Linked DNA regions of Homo sapiens: all the other regions are linked to region 1. The links are contacts of gene promoters, found by promoter capture Hi-C in blood cells and fetal thymus (Javierre and others, 2016). All regions are on one chromosome and are shown on one strand. The core of a region is centred on a gene start or on the middle of the fragment in contact, and the rest is flanking DNA. Distances in the headings are between cores, read along the strand shown.

Region 1 (3,069 bases), core at 50-2,549:
GAAACAGAGATGTGGTTTTTGGAATCTTTCAAACATTTGAAACATAAAGTACTTAGCTCTATATAGTTGCCTATTTTGTCCAACAATACCCTTTGCCCTCTCTTGATACCTAGGGTCCTGAATGCAGAAGGTAAGTGAAACTGTAAGACTAAGGGAGCCCTCCAAAATACATCTCTTAAGGCAACAATGTAAAATCTAGTATTCCAAACTGCAGCTACCATCCAAACTAACAAAAAAAATGGGTACTTCTCTATATACTCCCCAATTTTTTTATTTAACAGCATTAAATGTTCTCTTCTTTACTGGAGATGGAAGAAAAAGACTCAGATTTACTTTAGGATCTTGTAGCTGACAATGTATCAATGCCAAACAGGAGAGTTACTGTTAGTCAGAGAGACGGGGACCACAAACACCACCAGGTGCTCATTTCAGTATCAATTTAAACCCACTGTGTGACCTATATCCAAATTTTGCACTCCTCCATAAGTAGCAATACAGACACAGGTTTTAATCTTGAATCATTACAAAAACATTAAACAACTTTAGACAGAAGGAAAAATGCCAAAATGTTAAAAAATAAGTCTAGATACTGAGATTGCCAGTGGGTTTTTTTATTCTTCATAGGTCTGTGTATTTTACCAGCTTCTTAAAATTAACACATATTAGTTTCTAATAAAAGAACACATGTTATTTCTTTTCTTGAGATGGTATCTTGCTCTGTCACCCAGGCTGGAGTGTAGTGGCACGATTTTGGCTCACTGCAGCCTCTGCCTCCCAGGTTCAAACAATTCTCACGCCTCAGCCTCCTAAGTAGCTAGGACTACAGGCGTACACCACCACGCCTGGCTAATTTTTGTATTTTTAGTAGAGATGGGGTTTCACCATGTTGGCCAGGCTGGTCTTGAACTCCTGACCTCAAATGATCCACCCAACTCGGCCTCCCAAAATGCTAGGATTACAGGTGTGAGCCACCGACGCCTGGCCAACAAATGTTATTTCTAAAAGATGAAGAAGCAAGAGAAGAACATAGACACGAATCTGCAAATCTACTTAGACCGAACATATCAAACGAGGTTTGGCTAGAGCTTCTCAGTACACTAATTGCTCTGCTCAACCTACAAGAAGCCAGGTACACTGGATGTCAACATGCCTACCTCATGGTATCTTCTACCTATCCAGAGCCCTTAACAAAACAAGTCTCTATCTGAGACAGGAGGGAAAACTTTATCTCTGTTAGCCAGCTCTCATTCCAAAGGGGTCTGATATTTAAAACTGTCTTTCTCCCAAATATTTTAACAGCATGTGAGAACTTTTGGCTGATGAATACAAGATACGCTCATTCATTCTCTTCATTGCTATGAAATGAGTTTTTCCACAACCTCCTGCAGAACCTCAACACATCACTAGGTGGCAACATCCCTACACCATATCGGTTTAGAAACCACGGTTAGGAGGAGCAGCAAAACACGCGGCATCCCAGTATGATTCAGAAGTAAAGTAAGTAAATATTTTCAGGGCAAATAAAAAACAGTCAAGTCTGATGCAATTAAAAGAAGTCCTCTCTACAAGAATAAATGTTTGTCCCCACTCTCCTCCCTCATGGAAACAGTACAGGCAAGCTGCCGGAGTGAACGCTGAGTGAGGGAAAGGAACGCACCATCGTTATCAAACTCGATCCGCGTGCATGGCCCCCGGGCGGTGATGTCGCAGCTGTACAGCCCTCCCGTTCTGTTGGCTCTCTGCAGTGGAAGCGCTTCTGCCCGCGGGGCCCCCACGAGCAACCTGTTGATGAAACAGAGACAATTTGGAGATTTGAATTTAATATACGTTTAACAGTTAAATCAGTCAGAACTAGGAGATAGTGGGATTATTCTTTGTCTAGGAGTCCACTAATTCTTCAACAGCTTAGGCAGTGAGTGAGAACAAATGTAGAGTCCTATGGCTGGTTCATGCAAAACGCACAAACACAACTAAACAGGGGAAGCCAAAGAGGGGATACCAAAACGAGGAAAATAGGCCTGTCTCTCATAGTATCAGCATTTCTTGCTGGGTATGATCTGGTGTTTAAAAGACACCCTCTTCAAAGAATACAACCTCTAAGCCCCTATGATGCCAGGGATATCATATGAAACTCAAGAGAAGAAACCAAATACTTGTGACAATGGAAGGAAAAAATGGCCACACTAAATGTAATAAGCAATAATATGTCAGTTTCTAACACTGTGCCTTCCTGAGGTAGTTTTCAAGGGTAATTCTGACTATATCTTAGATTTTCAGTTTATATACTAATTGAGAGAACCTAATGGTAAGTAAGATACAACTCGACTGAATTATTCACTTGCAGCCTTGGCCTCTTTCCAATTCTTTTTTTTTTTTCCCTCCAGTTTTATTAGGGTAGAATGGACAAATAAAAAGCAGATATATTTGAGGTGTACAAGTTGATGTTTGTTCTTCCAAGTCAGTTCTTACTTCCTTGCACTTTTGTCACATTACAAGAGTTCGTCCTCTCTCATCCTATCAGTCTCCCACAAAGGATTCAGGGACAACTGGTGTAGCTCCACTTATGTACTAGGCACTGTAATATTCCTTCTTCTCCCCAGCCGAGTGTTTTTATCTCCTATAAGGAGGCCCCCAGTCCAAATCCACAGTCCTTAAAATTTCACCATCTCACAGCTTGACAGGCTCTTTAGAGATCCAATGACCTTGTTGCTAGGTCTCTTTTGCTAACACCTTTACTCACCATCAGGTTTACAATCTTTGAGGCCTGGCTGACTCATGGAACAACTAGGACAAGAAACAAAGACAAAGAACACACACCTGACTGGACAGAGATAAACCAAGAGCTGAGAGTTTTGGAAACAAGGCTGGAGCTGAGGAAAAGGACTGGGAACACGAACCTGTACAAACAACAAATTCTTACAACAGAAAACAAGCCACTCCTGGCCATCAAGAAACCCACAAATCTCAGAAGCAAAAGCAAAACAAATGAAAATACAAACCAAATAGTCTCTATTACCTTCATGCCTGTTGGGTCCCAATAAAGGAATCATTCCAATAAAGGATTCAACA
Region 2 (3,069 bases), core at 328-2,827, 510 kb after region 1:
GGGTGACAGGGTGAGACTCCGTCTCAAAAAAAGAAACCAGAATACAACCTGATATATTTAATTAACAAAGACATCTCTTACAAATGGTTTCCTAACGCTTGGTAATTTATTTTTAAAAAGGAAAGTGCAAAAGTATTCTAGTTAGATATTCTGGTAGGTGGGTCATTATGAAATATTTTTAGATTGTATACTATTTAACTATGGTCATTTCAAGTTCCAGTGTTCTGTACTTTATTACACATGAACATGTTCATATGGAGCAATTTTTGCATTTCCTCATTATTGAATAAAGCGATATGCCTGATAATTAGTAATCTATTTTTTTAATGTTTATATTTGTATTTATACACATTTGAAAACCCAATAACCTCTCTAACATCTTATCTTAAGCAGCACCATTTGTCTAAATTTGTCTAGTTATTTTTGAGATTGAAATTAAAGGCACGTTAAGTAGGTGGTAACATGTTGTTCTTTACTTGGCTAAAGTGGTACATAGACTTAACTATAATTCTAAGACTACCTAAAATATGCTAAAAAAAAAAAAAACAAGCAAAAGAAATTCTGTATCTACTTAATGTTCTCAATCTCATGTTCTCTGATAATATTTAAGCTTTAACTACAGAATGTATTGTTGAGAAATTAAAAGTGTGAACTTTTTCACTAATGGAAAAACAAAGGTCATATTATGTTTATTTACACTGCATTAGTATTTTGCTACTTGAACTAAACAAGATAAACTTGTCAATATATACTTTTAAAGCTCTTTATGATATTTCATAAAAAGTATTACTTATCAAGAACACCATCACAATTTGAAATTTTACTAGTCTACCAAAGATTTTTTCGAAATTTCTGGAAGTATGTAGGATTTTCCTAGAAAGAGGCTAAACACTCCATAAAATTTTTAAAATCTGCTCTCATATCCTCTCAAATTCAATCCAATTAGTGGGACACTAGGATAAAATAACTGAAATTCACAGTTAATACAAACTTTATCCATCTATTTCAACTTCCTGTACCAAACTTTTCCCAGAAATGCTAGCAATTAGCAAGACAACAATCTTAGTTACCCACTACTTCACTAAAAGGCAATGAAATTACCCCCAAGAAAAGGCAGGAGGTTTTTGTTTTTAAGACAAGAGTCTTGCTCTGTCACCTAGGCTGGAATGTAGTAGTGTAACCATAGCTTACTGCAGCCTTGACCTCCTGGGCTCAAGAGATCCTTCTGTCTCAGCCTTCCAAGTAGCTGGGACTACAGGAGCATGCCATCATGCCTAGCTTTTGTTTTCGTTTTTTGAGACAGAGTCTTGCTCTGTCACCCAAGCTGGAGTACAGTGGCGCGAACTCGGCTTCCTGCAACCTCCACTTCCCGAGTTCAAGTGATTCTCCTGCCTCACCCTCCTGAGTAGCTAGGACCACAAGCACGCACCACAACACCTGGCTAATTTTTGCACTTTTGGTAGAGATGAGGTTTCACCATGTTGGCCAGGCTAGTCTCAAACTCCTGACCTCAAGTGACCTGTCCACCTCGGCCTCCCAAAGCGCTGGGATTACAGGTTTGAGCCACCACGTTCAGCATTTTTTTTTTTTAATAGGCAGGGTCTTATTATGTTACCAAGGCTGGTCTCAAATTCCTGGCCTCAAATGATCCTCCTGAGTCAGCCTACAGAGTAGCTGGCATTACAAGCACAGAGCAGGAGGTGTTAATAAAAGCAAAGGTCAAGGACAACCAGATGAAAAAATCATCAGTGTCTGAATAATCAAGTTTATTGTATTGTAAAATTCAGAATTATGTTTCCTTTAAAGATGGTGGCTAGTAGAGATTTTATAGGCATCTTAATTGTGACTGAAGAATTTTAGGTGCAACTAGAGCATTCAGCTTGGAAAAGTAAAAGAATGGATGATTAAAAATTAATGTAATGACATAATCCTAATAAGAAATAACTTCTAAGCAGATGTTATGGCTGCTGACCATCTATGCAGTATGATCTGCAAAGCCCTAATATATTAGACTCAAACCTAACATCCAAAATAAAATTTTTTTATTGTTTCCACTTAAACCTATTTCTTCTATAGTTTTCCCAGTTAACAGTACCATAATTGAACTTGGGCAATGGGGTTCTCGTTTTTTTTCTTCATCTGTCACATCTAATTCAACAGCAGACCTCCAAAATGTTCCTTACTCTGACAACTAAGTCCAGTGTCACCTCTAACACTGCAATGTTCCGGTCTCTTCTTTCACTTTTGCCCTATACAGTGTGTTCTCTGCACAGCAGCCAGAATCATATTTTAAAAATATAAATCACATTGTTTATGACCTCCACCTACTTAAGAATGCCTCTAAAGAATGCCAACTACTCTTATTTCTTGCAAACACCTATCACAGAACACAAGATCCTATATGATGATCTAGCTTTGCATCCCCTTCAACCATCTCCTACCCCTCTCTCCATCACCACAATGATTTAACCCTGGTAATCTTTCTGGACTACAAAAATGCCAAAAATGCTGTATTTTTAGAGCCTTTGTATCTTAGTAAGCTTTACCCTCAGATTATAACATGGCTGGTTCCTCCTTTATCATTCAGAAATGAGCAAAATGTATCTTCATAATACTGCCTGAATTTAATTTGTGTATTTACTATTTTGTTTACTGACTGTTCCTCTTGGCTAGAATGTAAGCTCCATGACTTTGTCTGCCACTGTATCGCTGGCATCAACAACACAGAAGGCACTATGGAATGAACACTCACTGCAAACTGAGATAGAAGAAGCAAGCCCATGACCCACATATCCCCTACCCAATCGTTTTTAATAAGGGGAAAAAAGTCTTTGTTTGAATACGCAATATAAATGATCTTTGACCACAAAGCAAATAAGTAACTCTACAAAGAGACATTATAAAAGATTGATTCCTTATTCCTAACACAGTATTTCTAAATGGAAAAACCTAATTTTCAAGAATGGAACAATTAGATGTCAATGCAAATACACAGCTATTTTCACTGCATGAAATATTTAAAAGATTTATCTATAACTAAATCAATAGTTCCTTTGGAAGAAATCAATT
Region 3 (3,069 bases), core at 144-2,643, 480 kb after region 1:
TTAGCAAACTAACACAGGCACAGAAAACCAAATACTGTATGTTCTTACTTAACAAGTGGGAGTAAATGATGAGAACACATGGACACAAAGAAGGGAACAACAGATACTGGGGCCTACTTGAAGGTGGAGGTTGGGAGAATAGCAGAAAAATTAACTATTGGATACTAGGCCTAGTATCTGGGTGTTGAAATAATCTGTACAAGAAACCCCCAAGACACTAGTTTACCTATGTAACAAACCTCCACATGTACCCCTGAATCTAAAAGTTAAAAAAGAAAGAAAAATCATATTGAAAAAATAAAATTACCAGGATAACCTTAAAGAAATGTTTTAAAGGTGTCAGATGTAAAATCTTAGAAGCAAAGTGTGGAAGGAATGATAAGTATTTAAGAATGAGGTTTATTGTAAGTATTTAAGAATCATATCATCACACATTAACATATCACAACTAAGCATTTATTATACTGTTTAAGAAGGGAAGCAATTGCAGTAGTATTTCAGAAGCTTTATCTTTCTTTAAATGCAATATATGCTCATAAACTCTAAACAGTATTTTAAAATATACAATCTCTCCAAAAGAAAATATTCAACTAAAGATAGATAACTTTTAGTATAAGCAAAATGTCACAAGATTTTAAAATTAAAGTCATCAGATTTTTCACAGCACATTGTACAGAAAATTTGCAAGCTTCCTGTACAGAGCAGTATAATCTTTACTCTTGAGCAAGTCGTTCAATAACACGCCGGTAATCTTCCACTAGTTCCTGAAAACTCTCTTCCAGCTGTTCATGTTGCATGCTTATTTCTATTTGGTTCATCTGGTTTGTCAGTTCTTCTGGTCTGAGACATTTTCTCATCTTAGCAAGATCTCTCTGCTTTTTCTAAGTGACAAACAATTATTTGTTAGACGAAGAAAGTAAATATATTTCCTTATAGTCTTACAATTTTAAGTCTCCAATGTTAAAAATAAGAATAGTATGAATACGCCCAAACTTGTCCCACAATGTTTTTTTTTTGTTTTGTTTTGTTTTTTAAGGAAGCTTAAACATAATGTTAACCATGAATTGCAAACCCTCTAAAAAGAGTTAACAAGAAGACCTGGTATTTGTGTCCAATGATGGTAAATACAGACATGTGACTAGCAGCCCCCTCCAAAACTTTAAAGAACTCTGGGCAGTATAGACACTCAAATATTTGCTTAATAGATAGAAGACATTAGCTGAAGAAAGACAACTGAGATTAAGTGCTATTATTCTTCATTTTACTATTCAGTCATTAATTAATTACATTTTAAATTCCACCCAGTGAAGTACTTACGGGCCACATGCTAATTTTAACATAAACTGTTAGAAATGTTTCAGAAAGACAAATGGAAAACTGCTATACTTTAAAAATATATTAAATAGCATTTGAGTCTTTATTAAGTTCCAGACATACATTATCATACTAAACCCTCCTGGTTTGACTTAGGATACCGCTATGCTAAGGAGTTTGCAACAGGTAGCTGATAACAACTTTTATGCAGGACACTGTGTCAGAGATGTTTAGGATGGGACTGGAGGACTGGGCAGCTACTGCAGTAGTTCAAGCCAGAGTTGATGAAAGCCTAGATCAAGTCAGCAGCAGCAGAGATGGAGAGGACAGGGCAGATTTAGGGGAGAAAATACTGGGTGATATGAGGAAGGAAGAATGAAGAATAACTCCAGGATTCCTGGTTGGGTGGCATTATTGCAAATATGAAGCTTTCATGTTTCGGATATACTGTTCTAGAACTCCTGGGCCCAAGTGATCCACCCACCTTGGCCTCCCAAACTGCTGGGATTACAGCCATGAGCCACCACACCCGGCCCAGTTCTGGCCTTTTAGACTGGTGAACTGGCTGGACAGGTAAAGGTACTTAATAATAATATAAAAAAGAATTATCATTCTTTAAGAGTAGAAAATACTTGCACTTATGAACTACAGAGGTTCCCATTATTTGGCATTAGCTGTGTGACTACTATTTGTACTCAGAATTTCCATCTTTCATTTGTTATATTTTATATAAAAGTCACATTAATATCTAAAATATATAATTCAATAAATTATTTTACTTTAGTAAAATCTTAATAACTCTTAAATGTTGCCATCTATACTGCTCTCTGTGCCCAAATTTCATCATTAAGACATTTTCTAGCTAACAAATATTACTTAAAGGTCAAAACCTTTGGAAAATACCATTTTTACCCATTTTCTGATGTTTCTGAATTGATAACATCAAATAATAAAATGCTACTTTGGATAACTTTTGAGGAGACCATTATAATTTATTACAAACCTGCTATATGCAGATGATGGTCTGTAAAATAGAAAAACTATTAAACTGCAATGAAATGACACTATGAGGAACTATTCATACATCTGTGTATGAATTCAAGATAAAATGATTTAGTCATAGGCAAATAATAATTTTATATTCAGAATGTGAACAGAATTACAATGACAAATTAGGAAATACAGTTGCACTGCAAAGTAAAAAGATGCTATGAAGGAAAAGTTGGGATTCAGCAAGTAGTGTCAGCCAATGAACCATCAGCATTCAAGACTGGCTCTATAAAGCAGAATCCATGGCAAATAAAACTTAAATTTTCTTTAAATTTACAAAGGAAAACCAAAACTATGTGTACCTGATACAGTTAGTTAATTTACTTTCTCAAATTGTAATGTAGAATCAACTTGGTCACTTATGTTCCCAGCTATTGTGATGTATAACCCTATAGGTATAGTATATATAAATGCAGCAACAACATTTTATCATTGAGCAACTGTACTCAATAATTATATGTTGAATAAATTAAATATTCTGCCAATCATCCCACTACTCAGCTGCAACTAGATGACAAATTTTCTTCTTTTTTGAGATGGAATTTTGCTCGTCACCCAGGCTGGAGTACAATGGCGCAATCTTGGCTCACTGCAACCTCTGCCTCCCAGGTTCAAGCAATTCTCCTGCCTCAGCCTCCGGAGAAGCTGGGATTACAGGCACCTCCCACCATGCCTGGCTAATTTGTGTATTTTTAGTAGACACAG
Region 4 (3,069 bases), core at 404-2,903, 470 kb after region 1:
CTTCCTCTCTAAAAATATCTTCCTCTTCACTTCTTATTTTTTATTATTTTTATTTATTTTTTTTTTCTGAGACGGAGTCTCGCTCTGTCGCCCAGGCTAGAGTGTAGTGGTATGATCTCAGCTCACTGCAACCTCCACCTCCTGGGTTAAAGCAATTTTCCTACCTCAGTCTCCCGAGTAGCTGGGATTACAGGCATGCGCCACCACGCCCAGCTAATTGTGTATATTAGTAGAGACGGGGTTTCACCATGTTGGCCAGGCTGGTCTTGAACTTCTGACCTCAAGTGAGCCACCTGCCTCGGCCTCCCAAAGTGCTGGGTTTACAGGTGTGAGCCACCGTGCCCAGGCTCTCTTCACTTTTTGTACACACTCATCCTGCACTGTCTCTGCTGAACTTTACACACTGACTTCTATGGAGTGACCACGTCATGCAGTACCGAGAAATGAGTCTTAAAAAAAAAAATTAGAGTCATGTTCAAATGAGCAATCTGCCTCTTACCATTTATGCGACCTTAGTAATGTTACTTAACCTCTCTAGCCTTACTTTTCCCTTCTGCAAAGAGAAAATAATTCCTAACTCACTGGGTTTTTGTTTTTGTTTTTGAGACAGGGTCTGGCTCTATTGCCAAGTCTGGAGTTCAGTGGTACGATCACGGCTCACTGCAGCCTCTTGACCTCCCAGGCTCAAGCGATCCTACCACCTCAACCCCCAGAATAGCTGAGACTACAGGCATGTGTCACCACGCCCGACTAATTTTTAAAATTTTTTGTAGAGACGGGGTCTCATTCATTGAGTTTTAAAAGGAAGCAAGCATATGTAAGGCGCTTAACACAGTATCGTGTACTTAAAAGGCACTTAATAAACAGTAGCTGTTACTATGAAAATAATATTTACCTCACAAAACTGTTCCTACATGCCTGACGCTTAAGTAGCTCCTCAAAATATGATAGTTTTCCTCTTCCCCCGTCCTTGGAAAAACTTTCTAGTTCTTTCCAACAAAGATTCAGCACCTAGTTCAAATCCAACAAAGATTTCCCCAATTCTGCTGCAAAGGCATTTGTATATTTACTAAAATCTCAACACTCACGCAGGATAAAACCTACTTAGAACTACCCAGACATCCTTTCTTATCTTCTTAACTTTAAGTCACTGGAAGAAAACCATCACATTTTGCAAGTCCCCAAAAAGCATGCCTGCATAAAAGCTCTAGGGAAGGGAACCGGGTGTCCAGATGCATTTCAGAATTACCATAGGTTTCCTTGCTCGGCATACAGAATAAATGTTGGTTACACTAATGATACAACCGAAGTTGGGGAAAAAAACTTCAGACAATGGCCCGCAAATCTCAAGGAGTAATTGCGAAAAGATGCCACGTGGTGACGTGTTCTAGGCGGGTGATCAGTGAACAAATTTGTATGTGTGATCCTGTGGTGTGTGAATGTGTCATCGTGTGTGCCTGCGTGTGTTCGTAAACACTGAAAGTACAGTCGTGTGCGCCGAGAAGTCTGAGCGCGGGTGCGCATCCCTTTGGACCCGGGTGCGTACCTAGTGAGCAACCGTGCGAACCCTCACGGGGCTCTCCTCCACGCGCTTACCTCTGCGGACGAGCAGGTGGACGCCACTGGGCGCCGCCATGTTGGCGTCGGTCACGTGGCCGCGAGCACTCGCTCGCCGCCCCGCCCGCTGGAGCCGGCCAGTCGCAGCCCTGCCGAAGCCCTGAGGCGTCGAGGCCGCCCGAGGGGAGCGCGCGTGCGCGCGCGGGGCTGACTGCGGGAGCCCTGGCTGGGAAGCGGCTAGGGCACCCGGGCAAGCAGCAGAACCCGCGGCCGGCTGAGTCCTCTCCAGCCGCGAGAGGCGGGCTCCAGCCGCGGCTCGCGCGCTCGCTCTGAGCCCCCGCGCCCAGGTGGGATGGAAGAAGCCTGTCAGGTAAGCGTGGCATCCAATATTTATAGCATCAACATTTTGGTGCATGGAAACGTGAAGTTGGGCGGAAAAAATAAAGCACAATCTAGTGTTCAACATAGCACTTTGTATCGTCTGCCACTCTGTTGCAAATTATTCCCCTGGATTCAGTTGAAAGGTAAAATTTGGTTCAAAGTCACCAGCTCCCCTTTTGCTGTCCCAGAATCTACATTACTCAGCAGAGACTCCAGACAACACAGGATCTGTGTGTCGCTGCAAAATCTATTCTAGGTACCCCAGTGGGTATGTTCAGGAGACTTCTCTTTCTCCAAGGACGCCTTCTGCTTGGCAGTATTAACTGGAGTCTTAATCCTAAATTTGGAGTTTAAGTATAAAAGGATGACGCCTGCCAATTGCATTGCCAAGAGAAGAAGCCTACAGAAGGCCAATTGTGAATCAGATGAGGGAGCTGATGTATGCCTACTGATGACGGTGCCCATTTTTACCAAATTCACTGTCTCTCTTACCTGTGTTCTGGGGTAGATGCCATCCTGTCATGGACCAGGTGTTATTCATCTTAGTAGCCTCCGTGCCCGGCACAGAACCCGATACCCGAGGAATGTCAGGTGAAGCAATTGAACACTGCATGAAACCAGTCAAACTGAGAATGTAACCGTTTCCAGACTTTAAATGCAGTGAAGATTGATTAGGATTCTCAGTGAATGTGTGTGATGTCTTCTAATTAATTTTTAAGCACTACACACTCAGTGAATAATCTAGACAATTCAGAACAATTCAGAAATAAGGAACAAGTGCAAGCCCCTTCCTCGCCCTCTGTACATACCATAGTCCCACTCCCCAGTTAACCACCGTGTGCTCAATTGAGATCTTTGCCTTTTACACACAGGCAAATGTAAGTATTTTAAATAGAATCATATGACTTGCTTTTTCCATTCCAGTCATCATAGGCATCAAATCTTAGAACACTTAGTTCAGACTTATTCTTTTTAATGACTATATAATCTTGATATTTTTACTTTTAAAGAGAGTGAATGTTGGCATTTCATTAGAGGACACATGCTATAATTCTGGAAAACCTGGTTTTGGATGCTTTTGGGTCACCTTGAAAGATAAAGAGAAGTAATGCTTTCCATCAGGGTAAATAA
Region 5 (3,069 bases), core at 405-2,904, 390 kb after region 1:
TTGTGATAATTTTCTACATTCATAGCCTTCAATGGGGGAAAAAGAATGAGAGCCACAAAGGAAAATTACTTTAACAAGAAAGTACAGAGAGTAAAAATGGAAGAAGAGACAAAAAGGGGAAAAAATAACCAGAAAAAAAGTTTAAAAAATAGATCTGGAGGGAGGAATAGCGAGACAGGGAGAACAACAGAAATGCTCAAAAGCCCATGTGCAGCTGTGTTGCACAATTAAATTGAATTTTTTTTTCTGCAGTTGATGAATGTGACTACTGCAAATGTGCCTCTGTAGTTAGCTATCATTTGTTGTTCCGTGACAGGAAAAGGATAATTACCTCTCAGAGAGAATCAAAGGCTGACATGCCCTTTAGACACAGCCATGAATGCAGAGCTCGATAGAATGCTTGAATAAGAATCTAGTGTTCTCTGCCCCCTTCTACTGAAGAATAAATTTTGTTAAAATGCAAGAGCACCACCAGTAAATTTGTTGAACCCTAGGTGTTCAAAAATATGAGGTGCATCTATCGACTCATCCCATTTGCAAAAATAAAACTGCATTTTGAATTCATTTCTATTATATTCATGGACAGTAAGATAGTGAGATATGCATTAAATTTCTTTTCCCAGTAGGGGTCTGATTCAACATTTCCTATGAAAGAACAGAGAGACACTATCCTTTTTTCCCAGGCTAGTTAGCCTATAATTTAAAACTGTCAAAAACACAATTTTGTTCAAAGTCTTCAATAAAAGCTTCTCAGATATAACCCAAAGAGATTTTACTAAAGTTTGATTCAGACACTGTTACAATATTTTTAAAGCCATAAATACATTTAACTGATATTTTACTGGCTTTTTTCTTAAAGTATTTGAAGGCTTACGAAGAAAAAAAGGCAGCATCTTTTCAAGGTGACTAAGCCTTCCATCCTTTAGACAAATGGGAAGTATTCAATGGTTCATATTAATGAGAACAGTACTTTAAAGGGCACTGATGTGATCATCTTTAACAGAATGCATTACTTTAAAATGAAAACATATATTCGGCATGTCTACTTCAAAACAGTTATGGGGGAAAAAAGACCTAAAAGTAGGTAACAGATTATAAAGAAAAGTCTTAAATTCAGAAAACACACATACACATACATTCAAAAAGTAAGGATAGAATACTCTGTGAAAAATAAACAACGGTTTACAGGAAAAATGAACCAGACAAAAAAAGAACAGAAGATCACCGTTTCAGGCTATTTGTTAATCTACCAATTTGAAAGGTAAGGCTTGCTTGAACTAACACTTTATTATCTTCATATCACAGAAATACATTTCACTTCATTCCTTTATAAAATTTAGTTTTTCTCCTGTCTTATTAAAAACCCCAGGGTTGAGATGCTCATCCCCTTCTTAGGTACTCCCTTCCATATTTGGTGTGATTTTGAATAAAGGGAAACTATAGACCAGTATGTCAAGCTAAAACAAAAGCAGCCATGTAAATATTGCTTGCTCCTTCTATAAGTTTCTTTGCTGACCCTGGTATAATTCATTTTTATAAAATCTTTTTTTTTTTTCAACTCAGGGAACAATATTGCAGCCTGGCAGTTCACATACTGATATCAGACTGAAATGATGGTTCTGAATCATAAAACATGTCATCAACTTTATACCAAGCCACCAATAACCTTTGTACCATTTGCCAACCCTCCCTTTACTTGTCAATGTAAGGCTTACCTGATTGTGTTTCCAATTACAGAGAAGGGAGCCCCTGCTCTGCAAGCTGCAATTGCTTCATCTCTACACCTCCTGGCAACCTCCACTAACTTTTTACCACATTCGTCCACATTGCCCACCAAAAATGTTTCAGAGGTGTCTCCATGGTAGCCATTGTAATAGACCTAAACATAAGCAGAAATTTAAAAATATGTCCTTGTTTAAAAATCTACTTTCCTAAAGTATACATTGTATTCATTTATGTATTTAGTAGACTCATGTTTTACCCTTCCAGAATTATTCATTTGCCTATCAAAAAAAGAAGAAATAGATATATTGAAACCTTGCAGAAATTTAAAAGATGAAGCCATGCAATGATATTGCAAAATTTAAAAACAACTATGTTAACTAGTATGGTTATTTCAGCATTATGATGAACAATACTACTGTAATATTTTGATTCCTCACTTTATTTCTGAGAAGACAAAATTATATAAGCAAAAATTAGTAGCCAAAGACCTTGATCTACAATTACCACAACAGGTTTAGAGAACCAAAAAGTATTTAACATAGTGAAAAGTTTCTTCAATGTCATGAAGACTTACTTGATTTTGTATTTACCAGTTCTACATTTGAAGTGATATATAATGACAAGAAGAAGTAAGATAGACATGTCTGTATTCTAACAAACAAATAGGAGAATTCAGTTCTAAGAATTGAAGTGGTTCCATATAGGAATGAAATGTGTTACAGAAAAATCCTATGTCTAGAAGTGAAATCTTAATCAAATGTTCCAGACAGCCGAACGTTAACAGAAAGCACTATATATGGATATCTAAAGAATTAGAATATAATAAAACAAGCTTAAAAGCACAATTACAGAAAGTATAATTTTATCAGTCTTCAGTGATTCAGAAGCCAAGTAGGATCTTGAAAGATACCAGATTCATTATAAATCATTGATAACCAAGCACTATAGTAAATATAAAAGGCAGAGGCAACTGTTTGGATACTGATCCTTTGATGTAGCATGGAATTTGCTACTTTGCATAAATTTGTCCTATCTAATTATTTTTCACATTTCTCTTGCTCATAAGGTAGAATGTAGAAACTGTTATAAAAAAGATGTTTATATGAGCTTTCAGTCTGTTGTGATACTGAATTAATGTCTTAAATCTGTATACTACTCTGCATTTCTTAAAAAATGCTCTCATATTCTGTGAAGGAAGCAAGAAAGGTCTTTATTAGATCTTCAGTTTATAATTCAGGAAACTGAGGCACAGATAAGTAACTTGTTTAAGGTTGGTGGCAGAATATAGAGGTAGATTCAGGTTAATATGATGGATTATTGGCTTCTAATCGAGTGTTTTCTCTA
Region 6 (3,069 bases), core at 333-2,832, 380 kb after region 1:
ATTCGGCTCCAAACTCTCCATACCAGAGAAGTACAAAAGTTACTGTATAAATTAAAAATCACCACGTCCTCCTTATTCGTTTCTCCCCGTGCGCTTAAAGTAAACAGTGCGTTTGAACAGTGCGTTCCTTGCGCCCAGCAGAACCCTGAATTGGCAAACAGCCTCAGGCGAAGTCCATTTCTCAATAAATAAAACCCCCTCCCTCCAATGCCCCCAGATTCCCACACCAGCTACACAGATGGTCAGGCAGAGTGTCCCAGGATCCGGAGATGGTCAGCCCGGCAGGACCCGGGCCGCTCAGACCTTGTGGCTTTTTGCTGAGGCCGCAGAATGAGGACAGCGGACGGATGAGGACCTGGACTTTACCAGCGCACAGACAGAGCAAAAGGAGACAGGAGACTGACAGGACAGAAAAGAGCTTTTGCTTTTTCTACATTTTGTTTTTGTTTTGTTTTTTCCTGATAGTCCCACAAAGCTGAAGGTCGGCGGGTCGGGTGGAGCGGGTTTATCTTGCTGCTTGGGCTGTCTCAGGTGGCAGTGGCTTCCCTCCGAGGCCACTCTCTGCTGCCACTGCTCGGCCCAGGCCAGGGTTCAGGCTAGAGCGCGGATGCCGGGAAGTTGCTGGGCCGGACCTCGCGGGGCTCCGAGGAGATGGAGGGCGTCCCGCCTCCACTGTTCCTTCTTCCCTCTGGGTCCTTCTTTTCCGGACGGGATGGATGGACCTGGAGGCGGGAGGGACCTGGGCCGGGGAGACAAGAAGGAGACGGGCGGGCAACCTCACATAAGTTGGGGTTGCTGCATAGCTTCTTGGTGCGCTGAAGGGTACCACGATGTGTAGCTGGGGATATAGGAGCCCGCGTTTCCTCCTGAGCCCTTCCCGGATGAAGAGTTAGGGTTCCAGCCGGGCGGCACGGGTGGGGAGCCAGCAGACAGGGCCCGACCGTTGGCCAACGCACTACCCTCCAGAGCCGCCCCACCCTGCTTCATCAGCTTCTTGAACTTGGATCGCTTGTTTTGGAACCAGATCTTGACCTGCAAGAGCGGACAACAACGTGACTCAGGCTGGGACCACTGAGCCTACCTAGGTCACAGGGAGGAAAAAAGGGACCGCAGAACAGCAGAGATAGGACCTCCCAACCCTGCGCCAGCTGGCAGCTCCCTGCCAGAGAAGCAGAGACATCCCTCCTTCCTCCCTTCCCCCATAAGAGCCAAAGGCTCGAAGGCCGAACCTCCCGCCGCCGTCAGCCCACGGGGGCAGCTCTCAGAGAGCCAGGGAGGAGTTGTGATGAGGGGAGAACCGGGATCCAGGCCTTAGCCTGCCAGGGGCTCAGTCCGACCGTGGCTACCGCCTGCGGAAGATACAGCGCCTGCATAACACCGAGCCAGCAATTCCAATATCAACATCAATAAAAAGAATCGAAAACCTAGGAAGGAGTGGAGGAAATTTATTTGCAACGCGACCCAACTTTTCTATGCGCCATCTTTTCTGCCCTTGAGTTGGGACGGACTAAGGAGGCCTCAAGGTTTTGCTGAACTTCTCTTTGGATTCAAAACCATTCTTGCACTAGTGTCTGTTTGCTTTCTCCAGCTCTGCTCCAAATCCCGGACCGGACGTCGGAAACCCGCGCCCGCCGCCGTCAGGAACGCTCACGGGCTCCCCGGAGTCTTACAGAAAGCCGGGAAGGAAGGTCCCGTTTCTTCTCTAAGGTCTGGGACTTGAGAGGTGAGAGGGCGGAGGAAAGGATCTCCCCCCACCCCCAACCGGTAAGAAGGAGGAGGAGGAGGGAGGCTGAGGCGCGGACCCAGGCCCCGAGTGATTAGTCACACAATTTAAAGGCAAAGGAGGGATTAAGCCCGGAGTCTATTGTTCCAGTTGTTTAGGCACGTGTGACCTCTGAGTTCCCAAACAAATCGTCTGGGGAAATCCTTCCTGCGCCCTAATCAGATTGTCCAGGGACAGAGGGCCGGACGGCAGGCAGCTCGGGATACCGAGAGCAGTGACAGAGCTAGGGCAGAGGGAATGAGGGAGGAAGGAGACACGCTGAGAGCCAGGGGTGGACACAAACACATACACACAGTGACACCCCGACCCTGAGTCCCAGCGAGCAACAAATGAAGACCCGGGCGCAGGCCGGCCGCGGAAAGCCTGCGTGGCAGAACGGAGCGGCAGCGGCGAGGTACCTGAGTCTGTGTGAGTCCCAAAGAGGCCGCGAGCTCCGCCCTCTCCGGCAGAGCTAGGTACTGAGTTTGCTGGAACCTCCGGTTCAAAGCCTGCAACTGCAAACTGGAATAAATCGTCCTGGGTTTACGGATCTTTTTTCCCTTGCCATTGAAGCGCACTTCACCGCCTTCCACCACCGTGCTCTTCTCCGAGTCCGCCCCTGGAGGGACAGCAGAAGTAGGGCCCGTTGTTAATACGAGGGGCCGCCTTTAGTGCGAACAGCCGAGAGCGAGTGGCTACCGAAGGGTGGCGGAGGCAGCACCAGGGAGAGAACGTTCAAGAAACTCTGAAAGCCAGGGAAGGGTCCCCCAAAATCCGAGGGCCTGTCCCGGGACGCTGCAGGAGGGATAGAGCCGTTCCCAGGAGCTCAGCTCCTGCCTTTGCAGGGAAAGTTTGCTATTTTTGCAGGCGGTAGTTGAGGTTTAATTACCCTTAATTGCATACATTGTTTATAGCGCTACGCAATAAATAATTACCGAGACTAATACGTGCACATGTGGGTTTCTGTTTTCCAGCGGGGCATTGTGTGCTCTGCACACCGAGCCGCCCAGAGGCCCAGCCAGTGCCAGGAGACGCTCTGGGATTTATCCTTGGCTGGATAGTTGCAAATTGAGGGAATTTTTAAAAAAATTTATTTGCTGTGACAAGGATCTATAGATTGATATTCGAAACCTCCACTGCTCCCGCGCCCTCCCCACCCCCACCCCACCTCGCTCTCCTCTCTTCTCTTTCTCTCTCTCTCCCTCTCCTCTTCTCCCCCGCTCCTTCTTTCCCTCTCTCCCTTGTACCTCCTCCTCTCCCTCTCCCTGGCAAGCGCACGTACCTGGGTCCTCCAGGCGGCTCTGGGC
Region 7 (3,069 bases), core at 159-2,658, 350 kb after region 1:
CTATTTGAAGTTATTTCATTATTAGCACCTCTTCTCTTTGTGCTGCCTTTGCCTTGTTCATTCCATTATCCTAGGCACTGTCGTCCAAAAAAGACTAAAGTAGTAAGTTGGCTTATCACCCCATGACAACTCCTAAGCATAATAAGCATGTGCCCAAGGCAAGAGTGACACTGACATGGAGGGGAGGGTCCCATGTGGCACAGTGACAAAATTTCTGCAATCCATCACCTTTAAAAGGAAACGCATATGATTTGGGCTTAGAAGTGAAAGAACCCCACTAATGATCATTAAAGACTTATGTTCCTAAGGATAACAACCAGCTATGCTAACCTCTTTCTATTCATGGACTGAATGCACCTAGGAATCAAATGGTTTCAGGTCTGTGCTTGGCTTCCCATTCATCTGGTTTTCACAGATAAAGGATGTTCTGGACTTTTTCCTGTAATTTTTTCCTAACAAAGTCATTGCATCCTAACTTCAAGGTCATGGTATTAGCTATAGTAGATAAGCTGCCATATATATATGTTTGTGTATAGATATATATATGTGTGTGTACATATATATATGTGTGTATATATATGTGTGTGTGTATATATATAATCCCAAAAGTCAGTATCTTAAAATGTAAGTTTATTTCTTGGTCAGATAACCTTCCAAACAAGTGATGAAGATTCCCCTAGGCGGTGAGTCCCCTAGGGCCTCTAGGAGACTCTAGGGCCATGTCATCTTCATAGTTGAAGCTGGTTCCAGACAGCGGAAGGAAAAAGAGAGCAGAGAGGAGTCTCAACTCTGCCTAAAAGGTCCTGTCCTGGGAGAGGCACACATGGCTTCCACTTATGTTCCATTCTCTTGGATTGAATGACATGGTTACACATAAGTGCAAAGGGGGCTAGGGAGTAGTTTAGCTGCATTCCCCAAAAATCAGATTTGAGAGACAACACTTGGTCCATTCCACAACTATCCTTCAGTAGTCTAAGTGAAGTTTTGTTCAATTAAACATTAAACAGAGGCACAGAAAAGTTAAATAACTTTCCCTAATTTACACAGTTAGCAAGTAGCCAAGTTAGGATTTAAGCCCAGAGCCCATACTTTTAACCACTGTATATATTAACTCTAAAAGTATTAACATCTAAAAGTATTGGCATCTATAGGCCGGGCGCGGTGGCTCACGCCTGTAATCCCAGCACTTTGGGAGGCCGAGGCGGGCAGATCACGAGGTCAGGAGATTGAGACCATCCTGGCTAACATGGTAAAACCCTGTCTCTACTAAAAATACAAAAAATTAGCCGGGTGTGATGGCGGGCACGTGTAGTCCCAGCTACTTGGGAGGCTGAGGCAGGAGAATGGCATGAACCCAGGAGGCGGAGGTTGCAGTGAACCGAGATCGCGCCACTGCACTCCAGCCTGGGTGACAGAGCGAGACTCCGTCTCAAAAAAAAAAAAAAGTATTGGCATCTATAATCATGACCTGAAGGCCCAGAAGCCATAAAAAAAAAAGAGTCACATATTTGACCATACAAAACTTAAAATCTCTGAACTAGAAAAGAGAATAAACAAAAGTAAAAGAGAAGCAATTAACTTGGAATTAATATTGACTATAAACACAATAATGAGTTAATCTCCAAAATATGTAATAATTTCCTGTAAATCAATTTTTTAAAAACAGAAAAATGGGCAGAGAACAAAAATAGGCAATTCACAGAAGAAAATAAAATGCCTATATAAAAACACAAGCCAAGCATGCGATGGCACATGCCTGTAGTCCCAACTACTCTGGAGGCTGAGGCAGGAGGATCACTTGAGCCCAGGAGTTCAAGATCAGCCTGGACAAAATATAGCAGAGCATCCCTCTCTAAAATAAAATAAAATAAAAAAGACACACACTCTACTAATGTAAAGCCTTTGCAAGTTAAAATATGGCACTATTTTAAGCCTATCATATTCAAAAAACACTGAAGATTCCTAATATTCTTGGTGAGAGTGCTCAGAAATGAGTATAGAGCTTAAATTGCTTGTTTTTTAAGGGGAGCTTAGTGGTAGCTATTAAAATGTTGACATACAATTCAGTTACTAGGATTCTAGTTTACAAATATAATTGAACATGTGGGCAAAGCTCTCCAGAAGACATTCACTCATGTGTTGTTTGTAAATATCGGAAATCATCTAGATGACAAGGCAAAGAAGATAGTCAAATAAATGATGATACCTTCCTCACACATTCACCTTAAGAAGAAAATGATTGCTCTGTAACGACTGACATAGAAAGAAAAGATTTCTTTTTTTTTTTTTTTTGAGACGGAGTCTCGCTGTCGCCCAGGCTGGAGTGCAGTGGCGCAATCTCGGCTCACTGCAGGCTCCGCCCCCTGGGGTTCACGCCATTCTCCTGCCTCAGCCTCCCGAGTAGCTGGGACTACAGGCGCCCGCCACCTCGCCCGGCTAATTTTTTGTATTTTTAGTAGAGACGGGGTTTCACCGTGTTAGCCAGGATGGTCTCGATCTCCTGACCTCGTGATCCGCCCGCCTCGGCCTCCCAAAGTGCTGGGATTACAGGCGTGAGCCACCGCGCCCGGCCAAGATTTCTAAAAAATAAAAATGCTAGCCAGTCGCAGTGGCTCACACCTATAATCCCAGCACTTTGGGAGGCCGAGGCGGGCGGATCACTTGAGGTCAGGAGTTGGAGACCAGCCTGGCCAACGTGGTGAAACCCTATCTCTACTAAAACTACAAAAATTAGCTGGGCATGGTGGCACGCGCCTGCAATTCCAGCTACTCGGGAGGCTGAGGCAGGGGAATCACTTGAACCTGGAAGGCAGAGGTCGCAGTGAGCCAAGATGCACCACTGCACTCCAGCCTGGGCAACAAGAGGGAAACTCCGTCTCAAAAGAAAATAAATAAATAAATAAATAAATAAATAAATAAAAGAAATAGAAATACAAATAAAAATGCTTACGTGTTTACACATTTGAAACATGCACAGGGTTTTATGCATTTGAAAACGCGTGCACAAGTACATGCAAACAATCTGACATGACTGCCTAGGGTCAGTTCCCTGTGAATAACCTGCAAGGT

What was found. Contacts are between HindIII fragments. The CHiCAGO score rates a contact against its expected background, and 5 or more counts as called.
Region 2: a contact is called between a fragment that was not itself captured here and the fragment with the promoter of ITGA6-AS1 in region 1, in 2 of 17 cell types (total CD4 T cells and naive CD4 T cells). The highest score is 5.5, in total CD4 T cells.
Region 3: a contact is called between a fragment that was not itself captured here and the fragment with the promoter of ITGA6-AS1 in region 1, in 1 of 17 cell types (naive CD4 T cells). The highest score is 5.0, in naive CD4 T cells.
Region 4: the fragment with the promoter of METAP1D here is called in contact with the fragment with the promoter of ITGA6-AS1 in region 1 in 1 of 17 cell types (activated CD4 T cells); the score reaches 5.2 in activated CD4 T cells.
Region 5: a fragment that was not itself captured here is called in contact with the fragment with the promoter of ITGA6-AS1 in region 1 in 5 of 17 cell types (naive CD4 T cells, total B cells, total CD4 T cells and 2 more); the score reaches 7.9 in naive CD4 T cells.
Region 6: a fragment that was not itself captured here is called in contact with the fragment with the promoter of ITGA6-AS1 in region 1 in 4 of 17 cell types (total CD4 T cells, naive CD4 T cells, naive CD8 T cells and 1 more); the score reaches 7.1 in total CD4 T cells.
Region 7: a contact is called between a fragment that was not itself captured here and the fragment with the promoter of ITGA6-AS1 in region 1, in 7 of 17 cell types (naive CD8 T cells, fetal thymus, activated CD4 T cells and 4 more). The highest score is 8.0, in naive CD8 T cells.

What each region holds. Positions count from the first base shown.
Region 1 is chr2:172,464,252-172,467,320 of GRCh38, reverse strand. ITGA6-AS1 (ITGA6 and PDK1 antisense RNA 1) reads left to right here and starts at 1,299. Exons shown (of 2, transcript NR_157573.1): 1 at 1,299-1,497; 2 at 2,747-3,059. It overlaps ITGA6 (integrin subunit alpha 6), which reads right to left. Exons shown (of 26, transcript NM_000210.4): 2 at 1,658-1,782. It overlaps PDK1-AS1 (PDK1 and ITGA6 antisense RNA 1), which reads left to right. Exons shown (of 4, transcript NR_199657.1): 4 at 2,747-3,055. RefSeq lists an enhancer at 889-1,058. The HindIII fragment of the contact is 13,641 bases long and covers 1-3,069 here.
Region 2 is chr2:171,959,369-171,962,437 of GRCh38, reverse strand. The region is part of intron 4 of HAT1 (histone acetyltransferase 1); the gene reads right to left. Among named protein-coding and RNA genes, the nearest start is that of HAT1, 38 kb to the right of the region's middle. The HindIII fragment of the contact is 1,930 bases long and covers 613-2,542 here.
Region 3 is chr2:171,980,997-171,984,065 of GRCh38, reverse strand. HAT1 (histone acetyltransferase 1) reads right to left here. Exons shown (of 11, transcript NM_003642.4): 11 at 380-881. The coding sequence ends at 714. The region is part of intron 2 of LOC124905590 (a long non-coding RNA gene); the gene reads left to right. Among named protein-coding and RNA genes, the nearest start is that of METAP1D, 17 kb to the left of the region's middle. The HindIII fragment of the contact is 702 bases long and covers 1,043-1,744 here.
Region 4 is chr2:171,998,537-172,001,605 of GRCh38, reverse strand. It overlaps METAP1D (methionyl aminopeptidase type 1D, mitochondrial), which reads right to left and starts at 1,653. Exons shown (of 10, transcript NM_199227.3): 1 at 1,597-1,653. The coding sequence starts at 1,636. LOC124905590 (a long non-coding RNA gene) reads left to right here and starts at 1,697. Exons shown (of 3, transcript XR_007087296.1): 1 at 1,697-1,927. RefSeq lists a silencer at 1,659-1,958. The HindIII fragment of the contact is 8,153 bases long and covers 1-3,069 here.
Region 5 is chr2:172,069,717-172,072,785 of GRCh38, reverse strand. It overlaps METAP1D (methionyl aminopeptidase type 1D, mitochondrial), which reads right to left. Exons shown (of 10, transcript NM_199227.3): 6 at 1,716-1,879. Among named protein-coding and RNA genes, the nearest start is that of DLX1, 14 kb to the left of the region's middle. RefSeq lists an enhancer at 1-995. The HindIII fragment of the contact is 1,811 bases long and covers 749-2,559 here.
Region 6 is chr2:172,085,966-172,089,034 of GRCh38, reverse strand. DLX1 (distal-less homeobox 1) reads right to left here. Exons shown (of 3, transcript NM_178120.5): 1 at 3,045-3,069; 2 at 2,182-2,381; 3 at 1-1,032. The coding sequence ends at 778. Among named protein-coding and RNA genes, the nearest start is that of DLX1, 2.0 kb to the right of the region's middle. RefSeq lists enhancers at 206-817, 1,431-2,042, 2,657-3,069. The HindIII fragment of the contact is 3,945 bases long and covers 1-3,069 here.
Region 7 is chr2:172,110,448-172,113,516 of GRCh38, reverse strand. No RefSeq gene overlaps it. Among named protein-coding and RNA genes, the nearest start is that of DLX2-DT, 9.0 kb to the right of the region's middle. The HindIII fragment of the contact is 7,472 bases long and covers 1-3,069 here.